Linked DNA regions of Homo sapiens: region 1 is linked to region 2. Evidence: promoter capture Hi-C in 16 types of primary human blood cells and fetal thymus (Javierre and others, 2016). All regions are on one chromosome and are shown on one strand. The core of a region is centred on a gene start or on the middle of the fragment in contact, and the rest is flanking DNA. Distances in the headings are between cores, read along the strand shown. Region 1 holds the start of PTTG2 (pituitary tumor-transforming 2). Region 2 holds the start of FAM114A1 (family with sequence similarity 114 member A1).

Region 1 (5,421 bases), core at 530-3,029, 910 kb after region 2:
GATAAAGATTACTTGGAGCAGCCCACCACAGAATCAGCTCCAAGATATGGGGGAAGTACTTGGACACCATAGTGAACAAAACAGAGATGGTCCCTGCCCTCATGGGGCCCACAGTTTATTTGGGAAGACAGGCAATGTACAAGTAAATTCTCAAATATTTTATGATTTGTCTTGAATTTTTAAACTTAAACCTTCTCCAGTTTTAAAATAGCATGGAAGCAAAAATCAAAATGGAGTGGAGCAGATCACAAAATTGTAACTCTTCTCTAAGGACCAGTATGACAGCCTAGGACTGAGACCTTGCATCTTTTTTGGAGGTCAGTTCTGACAGCATCCTTTGATTGAAGAGGGATTTGGAAACTTTGGCCTGTCATGGCCTTTGATGGTTCTTAAATAGCCACATCTAGTTGGCTTTTTGTGGAATAACATGTTCAGAGACATAACCACCACTCACTTTCAGTAGAAAGAGCAAAACCACTAACATGTATAATGAATAGCAGCTCCTGGCCTAGGAAACTCACTAAGTCTTGGAATTCAGGAACCAGAGAGGAAACCCTGAAGCCTCTCAGGTGATCTGGATTGACACCAGACATCTGTGACTCTATCAAAGCTTTGTACAGAATTCAAGGCATGGACATAAAAGTGCTTTAAGTTGTAAGACATTAGCAGAATAAGATACGGGATTTCATGAACATTATTTAGCCATATAGACATTTTAAGATAATCAGTGTTAGTCCTAGCTGCAAATATGTTCCCTATTTTTTTTTAGCATTCCACAAAATTCTCATTCTTTTAATTATCTCCCTTTGCTGCTAGGACCTCCTTAAGGCTTTCATCTGGTTCACACTAGGCTGGGAAGAAAAGATGTAGAAGTTCTTGGCCTGGCCCTGGCCTTTTCTCCTTTATCCTTTGCTATTTCCTGTCTCCTGTTTCTCTACAGAAGTAAATCATGTTGACATATCCCCAAAGAGTACGGGCTGTAGTATGGAAGAAATATAGAAACAAGGGACAGCTGAGACAGATGCACATAAAGAGGAATATGACCCACTTTATATTTATGTATTTATTATGTTGTTAAACAAATAATGCTTTATTAATACAAGTACACACAAACTCCAAAGCACTAAGAAATTTAAATATCTATGTCATAGCAAACAGCTGGCAATTCAACATCCAGGGTCGACAGAATGCTTGAAGGAGACTGCAAACAGATTGCATTCCCATGGTGGAGAGGGCATTTTCACAGGTGAAGGGGGGCCCAGCTGAAACAGCTTTTCAAGCTCTCCCTCCTCATCAAGGATCATGAGAGGCACTCCACTCAAGGGGAGGTGTGCAATCTGGCGCTCTTCAGGCAGGTCAAAACTCTCAAAGTCTAGAAGATTGAAGGGAAAGAATTTTTCTATTTCTGGATAGGCGTCATCTGAGGCAGGAACAGAACTTTTTGTTTTAACAGTCTTCTCGGTCATCTTTTTGGCAGAAAAGCTTGGCTGTTTTTGTTTTCTGGGTCCATTGGTCTTTACTGACTTTTCTGTAGCTCTGTTGACAGTGCCCAAAGCCTTTCTGGTAGCTTTAGGTAAGGCTGATGGAGCATCGTATGTTTTGCCAAAACGTCGTGTTAAAACTTGAGATATCCCATCTAATGCTTTGATTGAAGGTCTAGACTCCAGCTTCAGCACATCCTTGGCAGCCACACGGGTGCCTGGTTCTCCAATTTCCTTATCAACGTAGATCAGAGTAGCCATTCTGGATTATTGCCGCTCTCAACAGCCACATTCATCTAAGACCGTGGTCCCACTTTATATTTAGATAGAATGTTAACTATAGTGGAAATTGGTGTAATATCTAATTTTTGTGCCTAGCACATCATCTGAGAGTTAGCATGAACTCATATAAAGAGCACAGGCCTGAGGTCAGACAAACCTGGGTAGGAATCTCGGGAGTACCACTTTCTGTTAGCTGTAAGATTTGGGCAAGTTAGCTAACATCCAAGCCCTATTTCCACATCCATAAAATGGAGGTAAAACCCAACTCTTACACATTGTTAAATGGTCAAAAACCACTTAGGTAAAGGGCAGAGCAACCAATAAATAAATAGTTTCTGCCGTTATTGCATTTTCTAATTTATAATGTACTTTTGCATACATTATTTCACTTCTTACTAACCTTTAATAAATGCAAGTCTTCCATTTTTTACTAAAGCAGCACCCCTGAAGTTTCTCTAAACTGCAAAATGCTCAAATGTTTCATCCCGAGTTATCCCTTTTGCCAACTCTGATCTACTGGTGGCAGACAATCCAGCATGCAGTGGTGGGGAGAGCCGAGAGGCCCTCTCTGAGCAACGTGACTACTAATGGTGCTTGCTTGGGCAGGAATACTGGACTATGGCAATGACTATATACCTTTGCCAACCCAACCCCAATCTAGTCCAGGCTATTGATTCACAGCAGCAAAGGGTCACTTCTGTTTCTAAGGCCTAGAGATAAGTTGAGGGCACTTTTGCAGTGAGCCATTTCAATTCAATGATAAATATTCTTGTTGTCTAATTCATTCTATGAATCTTTGACCCAGTGACATATGTGCGTACGTATTTGAGCCCATATGCAAAAATATACAGTTGAGTCTTGAACAATACAGGATTGAGTCGCATGGATCCACTTGTTCTCAGATTTTCTTCTGCGGCTGCCACCTCTGAGACTGCAAGACCAACCCCTCCTCTTCCTCCTCCTCCTCAGCCTATTCAACGTGAAGACAATGAGGGTGAAGACCTGTATGATGATCTATTTCTACTTAATGAATAATGCAATATGTTCTCTTCCTTATGATTTTTCTTAATAACATTTTCTTCAGCTTACTTTATTGTGAGAATACAGGATATAGTGCATAAAACATACGAAATATATGTTAGTCGACTGTGTTATTGGTGAGGTCAACGGAAGACTATCGGTTAAGCTTTTTGGGAGTCAAAGGTTATAGGTGGATTTTCGACTATGCAGGTGATTGGCGCCCCTAACCCTCACATTGTTCAAGGGTCAACTGTGCCTGTTTATTTGCATAAGGCCACCTCAAATACAAAGGGCCATTCAAAGGTATCATTAGAAGTCTTGCTCTTAACCTGACACAGCTAGCTAGAAAGTGACAGAGCCATGACTTGGACCTGGTATATCAACTGATTGATGTAACCTCTATATGGAGCTTGTAAATTCAAGTGCCACCCAGAGTCAGTGAGGGAATGTAAATATATGATGTGCCAGTGGAAGACAATGGGGAACGGGGAGACTGGTGGGGTAGAGTGTGTGTGCCAATCTGCAGGCATTCCAATTGAATTGTTTTTCTTCAAACACTATGGTAGGCAACTTTTACAATAAAGTTTGCAGGCCACCTGTCTGTAATCCTGTCTCATTATACCATTAGCAGGAATTATTATTAAACAACTTCTTTCAACTCTTCCGACACATTCATTTTTTATTAACAGCCTTCTAATAGTACTCTGAATTGGGGCAGAAATAATTAAAGTAAAAGATGTCATATATGTGTCCTAAAGAAGGGACAAATAAAGGAGGTCTAGAGGTGTGAAAGCAAATCTAATCCAGGAACACTTTCTGGAGGAGGTGGCATTTGAGCTAGGAGAGATGGAATGCTTAAGTAAGAGAAGGAGCTAGGAGAGACGGAATGCTTAAGTAAAAGAAGAGGAAATCTCCCCAGGCAAAAGAAACAACAATGAACAAAACAGAGGAAAGCATGGCTACGAGGAAAAATTAACTGTCCCATTTTGCTGGAAAATAGAGTACACCATCTTGGAACAAAAATAAAAAATATGAAGAATCATCTGGGACCAGATATGGTCAAGGTTCTTGATTGCCAAGCTAAGGAATCTGGTGTTTATTGGTTAGAGATGAAAATGGCCTGCTCAGAGAATGGGTTTTCTAGGAGATGAATCTGCTTTGTTGATCTTACAGACTCTTTCTTAATATGAAGCATACTTTTTTCCTAGACAACTTCAAATCTGAAAAATGTGTTACTATTCTTAGCATATGTTTTTGAAAGTAAACTTGGTCGCCATAAACGTATATGAGAAAAGGGGCATAAAAACTGGCAGCAAATCCAGTAACTGTAGCCATCTGTGTTTCTGTTGTTCTAAGCAGAGATCAACAAAAATAGCATTTTAAAAAACATATAAGTATGGTTGAAGTAATATTTTCCAGTGAAGCTTTCCACAAGTGGCTGCTGATAATTTTATCTGGTATTTTAAAATAAAATACACTACCTACAGGACACCATGAAAAACTATCATCTGTTGCATTATAAATGGAAGAATAAAAGGAAGGAAAGACAGAAGGGAGGGAGGAAAATGATATGTAGTTTGTCAGGAAATGTAAATCACATGTCAGAATTGACCTTTTAAAAAGTAATAATGAGCAATAAGAAAAACATCAAACAATCTGTTCTGAACTTTTATGAAAAAGTGGTGTAGGATAAAAATGGAGTTTGGAGTCAGAAAGACTGTTTTGGAATCTCAACTCTCTTCTCTTTCTATATTATTTATTTATTTGTTTTTATTTTTATTATTTTAAGAGATAGGACCTTGCTCTGTTGCTGAGGCTGTGATCATAGCTCACTGTAGCCTCGAACTCTTAGGCTCAGGCAATCCTCCTGCCTCAGCCTCCTGAGTACCTAGGACTACAGGCACGCACCCCCATGCCCAGGTAATCTTTTTATGTTTTGTAGAGAGGGGTCCTGCTGTGTTGCTCAGGCTGGTCTTGAACTCCTGGGCTCAAGATATCCTCCTGCCTTGGCTTCCCAAAGTGTTAGGATTACAGGCATGAGCCACTGTGCCCAGCAATACATATTCCTGTCAACAGATAAATTCCTTGTCTCTAAAAAGTAGTGTTATTTATTACTTTAATGATTGTGAAGAATGAAAACATGTGTCATATCAGGTATCATACATTTGTCTCTTTCCTTCTTTTGGAAAGGAAGAGATACGTCTGCCACATTGTGTAACTGTGGCCATGAGTATTATACAAACTCATGAGGGGCTTATGTTCTCCCATCTCACGTAGGGAGTCTAAATGTTTATGTGGTCAGCTTGATCCTTCCTGTAAGGGGAGGGAGGCCATGGTGCAGATAATCCCAAAGACCGGATAGGAGTAATTCTTTAAGTTTCACCGTGGCATGCATCAGTGGCTTCTTTGGGGGAAATTCATTTCTACACTCCCTTCTTTTTTTTTTTTTTCTTTTGAGACGGAGTCTTGCTCTGTTGCCCAGGCTGGAGTGCGGTGGCGCGATCTCTGCTCACTTCATCTTCCACCTCCTGGGTTCAAGTGATTCTCGTGCCTCAGCCTCCCAAGTAACTGGGACTACAGGTGTGCTCCACCACACCTGGCTAATTTTTAGTAGACATGGGGTTTCACTGTGTTGGCC
Region 2 (5,441 bases), core at 2,280-4,779:
AGATCACTTGAGGCCAGGAGTTCCAGACCAGCCTGCCCAGCAGAGTGAAATCCTGTCTCTACTAAAAATACAAAAAAATTAGCTGGGCATGGTGGCATGTGCCTGTAATCCCAGCTACTCTGGAGGCTGAGGCATGAGAATTGCTTGAACCTGGAAGGCAGAGGCTACAGTGAGCCAGGATCATGCCACTGCACTCCAGCCTGGGTGACAGTGTGAGACCCTGTCGCAAAAAAAAAAAAAAAAAAAAAGAAAGAAAAAAAAGAAAGCCATGCAAGATCAGCTCTAATTCAATTTCTAATTGTGTGTATCTCTAATCCATATTTATCTCTACTTGTTACAGGTCTAATTTTCCCCAAATCAAAACGAAAAAAAATTATTTTTTGTTTGGTTGTTCTGGTAGAACTTTATCGACTGTGGATGCTATCATGATGGGGGAAATGTAATCATTTTTCAGACTATACCCTTTTGTATGAAACCACTAGAAACTGTGTGTTTGAAATACAGAACTGTTTCTGAGCAGGGGCTGCTGGAGTCCACCAGGATTACAGTCATGACAAGCACTGTGTTTCCTGGGACGGTTTCCATCTCCGTCTGGGTGTTCCATAAGCCAGACTTAGAAACCTTTCCTGATTTATGGTTAGGAACACTGATCACTGTAGCCATGTCTCGTGGACTGGAGGCTAGGGAGACTCAACCCACAGAAACAAGGAGGCTGCTTCAGGAAACTCTAAGGAGAGGAAGGGTGGCATATAAAGAAGCCTTTGTGGGCTGGGAATAAGTTAGTTTTTCGTGAGTAAATTCATTCATCACCTAAAATGCTCCCAGAACTATGCAAGGTATTTAAGCAGCAACATCACAGCTCCAAAAATAAGTATAAAACAGAAGACATGGTCACTATCCTTCAGAAATCAATCATCTGTTTGAGGAGCTAACACAAAACAGTTAAAAAGTGATGCAAAACAGCACAGCAAATCAAGGACAGATGTGCCTGAACTAGACTGACCCTGTGCAAGGGAGAATCTTGAAAGTGTCTTTGATGTGGTGATTCAGGCCTGGTGGGATGAGAGCATGTGCAAATGTCCAAGCATCAGCGATGGACTGTAGTGATTCAGGACAGGTGTCTGAGAGGCCAGGACATGAGGCTGCATGGAGGAATGATGAGAGGTGGGAGCGATGGTATTCTGAGGTGGAAAGAGTTGTGTCCTGCAGGCGTCAAGGGATGTGGCCTCTGGTCCCAGTATCCCTTTGTGGGCACACAACTTGATCCTCACTGTGCTTACACCTGCTCCTCTGTAAAGCTAGGATGGACAAACTGATCTGGATGCTTTTTTTTCCAAACTCCACCTGCAGGACTGGGGCAAGTCTGTGATGATAGAGAAAAATGAGGACAAGATTGCAAGTTTTTCATAAATCTAAATTTATTAAATGTAAAGGACTGCCTTCATCTTTCAAGTTTAGCCTTTGTGCTTTTTCTTGGTATTAAAATGTCTTTCATTTTATGAAATAGTGACAGTGGATGGATTTTTTTAAAAAAAATGGCCTGACTTGGCAGCATAAAAATTTGGTTAGCATGATATCCTGTGTGAGGTCATCTCCCCCAGTTAAAAAAAAAAAACAAAAACAGTGCCAGTCAGCGAAGGACCAGGAATAAAAACTCTGGATGAGAGGCTCTTAATCAGGTTGTAGCAGTTTGTATGAGTTTGTATAAAGCTTGACAAGTCTACGTACCCAGGCTCCAGCCTATTCTCTGTGAGGCTGCCAGGCATTTTTGGACCTATTTGCTCTCCTGTTCAAAAACCATTAGGTGTAAATATCTTCACACTTCCCATCATAATCCAGCTCCAATCTCTCTCCACCTCTTGCAACTCTCAGTATCCTCCACTCCTGCCTCACCAGTCTTTTCTCCATTCCCCATAACTCTTCACATCTCCCTGCCTTTGCTTACGCTGGTTCCTCTGCCCCGGTGCTGCCCTTCCTCCAGCTGCCTGGCAAACTCCTATTCCTCTAGACACCCAGTGTCTAATGTTACCTTTCATTCTGAATTTTTCCTTAATCTGCCCCACTGCTTCCAATGAAATAACTGCTACCTCTTCTATGTTTTTGGCACTTTGCACAGATTTCTATTCCATGTATTTATGGAGTATTTACTTCTGCCATTCTGTCCTCCAAGACTGTGACCAACAGCACCTAGGTTGGTTTCTGTCCCTCAGATATTTACTGAATTGAAATACATTGTGTTTGATATTAATAAAAGAGAAACCATGTTTGATGTAAGCCTGGTCAAATAAACAAAGACAAGTTTACTTTTATGGTCTGAATCGCTCAGATTCAAGAAAGCCCCCTCCAACCCTCAAATTCCTTCTGCACTGTCTCACTTGTGCCTCAAATCCATCCCTAACGTCTCATTCCTTCACTTAAAGGTTACAATGTAAGAAGTTTATCAGATTCTTTCCCAAGCTCAGGCTTGATGGAAGAAAGGAGGGCGGGGACGCAGGCCTATGGGTGGGGTAGGGAAGGAGCCACTAGGCTGCAGAGAGGGCAAAAAGAGGCTCTGAGGATAGAGCCTGTCTCATTCTCAGTTGTCACAGGTTGGCTGAGGTCACAGGGAGTTCAGAGCACACTGATTTAAGAAGCCACCTGCCTGTGTCCTTCAAGATGTTTAGGATGGGAAATGATGGGATCAGTAGGGCATAGGTAATGCTCTCACAGCCCATAGAGAGATGTCTTCCTACTTAAGAAAAGGCAGTGACGTTCAGGCGCCTGGTCTGAGGTGCCTGGAAATACTCACCGGATGGCAGAGGCGAGGGCTAGCCGACTGGGTGGAGGGGGCCTGGGGATCTGCGGTAGGGAGTGGGACCCATCCCGGGGGCTGCGAGTGGAGGCGGTGCCTGCTTAGAGTGTTGGCTGGACTGGAAGAGCAGGCAGGGCGTGGGTCGGCTGTTGGGGGAGGAGTAAGGCGAGGGGAGCGGGGAGGTCAAGGCCTGAGCTCCCTGTGCCAAGGCCGAGGGCAGGCGCACCCTGGGACGAGGCCTCTGTCTTACAGGGACCTGCTCCCTTCGTGCCCGGGCTGGGGGACCCTGCAGCCCACCTCTGACTTGGCCCCGAGCCATTGGGGGCACTTTTCCAGACTTGCTTGGTGCCAGGACTGGATACTTTGGGAGATCCAGGCAGGCTCCGCGGAGGTTCACGCAGGCCGAGGGGGCAGACCCTGAGTGTGGGCGTGTGGGTGTGTGCATGAGCGTGGACCCGGAGCGACACACACTCACACACACACACTCACACGCCCGCACCCACGCAGGTCCCTCGGCCGCGCCGCCCCAGACCCTCACCCCAGAGCCGGGTCCTCCCTGACCACTGCTTCTCACTAACGCAGAGGGCAGGATTCGTGGGTCCCGGACGAGGCGCCAAGGTATGGTGTTCCCACCACCCCCGGGCAGCCGCCCCCGCGCTCGCCCGCCCCCCGGGGAAGGGGATGGGGACCGAGTGCCCGGGGCTCTTACCGCTCAGGCGGCCGAGTACGCGCGGGAGTGCCCAGCGGGTCCCGCCCCGCCACGTCTGCAGGGCCGGCGGGGACGCGGCCGGAGGGCGGGCGGCTGGAGAGGGGGCCCCGCCCCGCCTGCGCCCCGCCCCACGAGGAGCGCCGCGGGGACGCCCGGCCACCCCCACGCTGCGAGGGCCGGGCCCGCGCTGGGCGAGTCTCCTGGAAACTTGGCTTGTCCCACCCCTGTGCCAGCGCGGAAAGCCAGAGCGCGCCGCCTCTCCAGCCCAGGGCGGGTGGGTCTCGGGGTTCGCCAGATCCCTTTCCTTTCCTTAAAAGGGCTTGGAAAACCCCCCGCCGTGTCACTGGGAAGAGGTCGCTCAAATTCAGCTAAAGTTTGATCTCCTGATTCTGCGTTAAGCAGCACTCCCTTGCCCTGTCGGTGGGAGTGTGATAGATTTAAAACAAACAAACCCCAAACAAACAACGAAAACCCACTTTCCAGAAGGCCAGTTTGGAGCTGTGGGTTAAAACTCCGATGTATTAGCTTTGGCCTAGGAATTCCACATTTGTGAATTTGTCCTAAGTAGGCAGTCAAATGGGCAAATATGTATGTACAAGGATGTTTGTTGTAGTTGTTTCTGCGGGGGGAAGCCGGAGACAATCTCAATGTCCCCCAGTAAGATTGGTGAAGTAAGCTACAGTAACTTCAGACATCGAATATGTTGTAGCCCTTAAAAATGAGGATTCGTTGACATGGAGGGAAGGCCACATATGAAGGCCTTCCTCAAATATGGCTTAATATGAACTCAGATGCGGAGGAAGCGCAGTGTTTATAGTATTAACTAGTTTTGTAAACAATTTTGTATTTTCTATAAAAGTCGGAGGAAATACAATTTAAAAATAGTGATTCTTTCTGAGCGATGTGTTTAAGGCAGATTTTCTCCTCTCTCACTCCATCCCTTCTTCTTTTTGAAGAATTATAAATTCAAAGTTAAAGAAAAAATAGCCCTAGTCTCTCCCTTTCAATATCACTACCATTTTTTATAGTGTGTGGATCCTACCATAGTTTTTCTAAGCTTATATAAATACATGTATGCATAAACAGCTTTTTGTTTGCTTTTTTATAAAAATGGCGAGATGTTGACGTATTTTGTAAATTTCCCCCTATTTATTATATATTATAATCATCTTTCTTGGTCAATACATATCAACCAAAACCACTCTTCTAAGACTTGTCTTATATATTGCAATATGTTTGTAATTATATTTCATTCAATCATTCTCCTATTGACAATTAGTTTGCTCCTTATATTCCAGTTTCTTCCATATATATATTAATTAATTTATTAATTCATTTTTTTGAGATGGAGTCTTGCTCTGTCGTCCAGGCTGGAAAGCAGTGGCGTGATCTCAGCTCACTGCAGCCTCTGCTTACTGGGTTCAAGCAATTCTCCTGCCTCAGCCTCTTGAGTAGCTGGGATTACAGGTGCGTGCCACCACACCCGGCTAATTTTTGTATTTTTTAGTAGAGACGGGGTTTCACCATGTTGGCCAGGCTGGTCTCGAACTCCTGACCTCAGGTGATCCACCCACCTCGGCCTCCCAAAGTGCTGGGATTACAGGCATGAGCCACCGTGCCTGGCTATATTTCTTATTTAATATTTTTATTAAATATTTTTATATTAATAATTTTTTAAGCTACTGAATATTTATTTTATTTTATTTTTTAGGAGGACAGAGTCTTGATCTGTGGCCTAGGCTGCAGTGCAGTGGCACCATCTCCATCTCCTGGGTTCAAGCGATTCTTCTGCCTCAGCCTCTTGAGTAGCTGGGATTACAGGTGCGTGCCACCACACCCGGCTAATTTTTGTGTTTTCAGTAGAGACAGGGTTTTGCCATGGTGGCAAGGCTGGTCTCGAACTCCTGACCTCAAGTGATCTGCCCACCTCGGCCTCCCAAA

Evidence for each region. Contacts are between HindIII fragments. The CHiCAGO score rates a contact against its expected background, and 5 or more counts as called.
Region 1: a contact is called between the fragment with the promoter of PTTG2 here and the fragment with the promoter of FAM114A1 in region 2, in 2 of 17 cell types (activated CD4 T cells and total B cells). The highest score is 5.6, in activated CD4 T cells.

The regions. Positions count from the first base shown.
Region 1 is chr4:37,956,756-37,962,176 of GRCh38, reverse strand. PTTG2 (pituitary tumor-transforming 2) reads right to left here and starts at 1,779. Exons shown (of 1, transcript NM_006607.3): 1 at 1,049-1,779. The coding sequence starts at 1,742. The coding sequence ends at 1,167. The region is part of intron 2 of TBC1D1 (TBC1 domain family member 1); the gene reads right to left. The HindIII fragment of the contact is 1,467 bases long and covers 1,485-2,951 here.
Region 2 is chr4:38,865,894-38,871,334 of GRCh38, reverse strand. It overlaps FAM114A1 (family with sequence similarity 114 member A1), which reads right to left and starts at 3,529. Exons shown (of 15, transcript NM_138389.4): 1 at 3,501-3,529; 2 at 2,789-2,937. MIR574 (microRNA 574) reads right to left here and starts at 3,303; the gene lies at 3,208-3,303. It also overlaps a transcript of TLR6 not described here. RefSeq lists an enhancer at 2,395-2,978 and silencers at 3,186-3,235, 3,286-3,765. The HindIII fragment of the contact is 2,847 bases long and covers 1,713-4,559 here.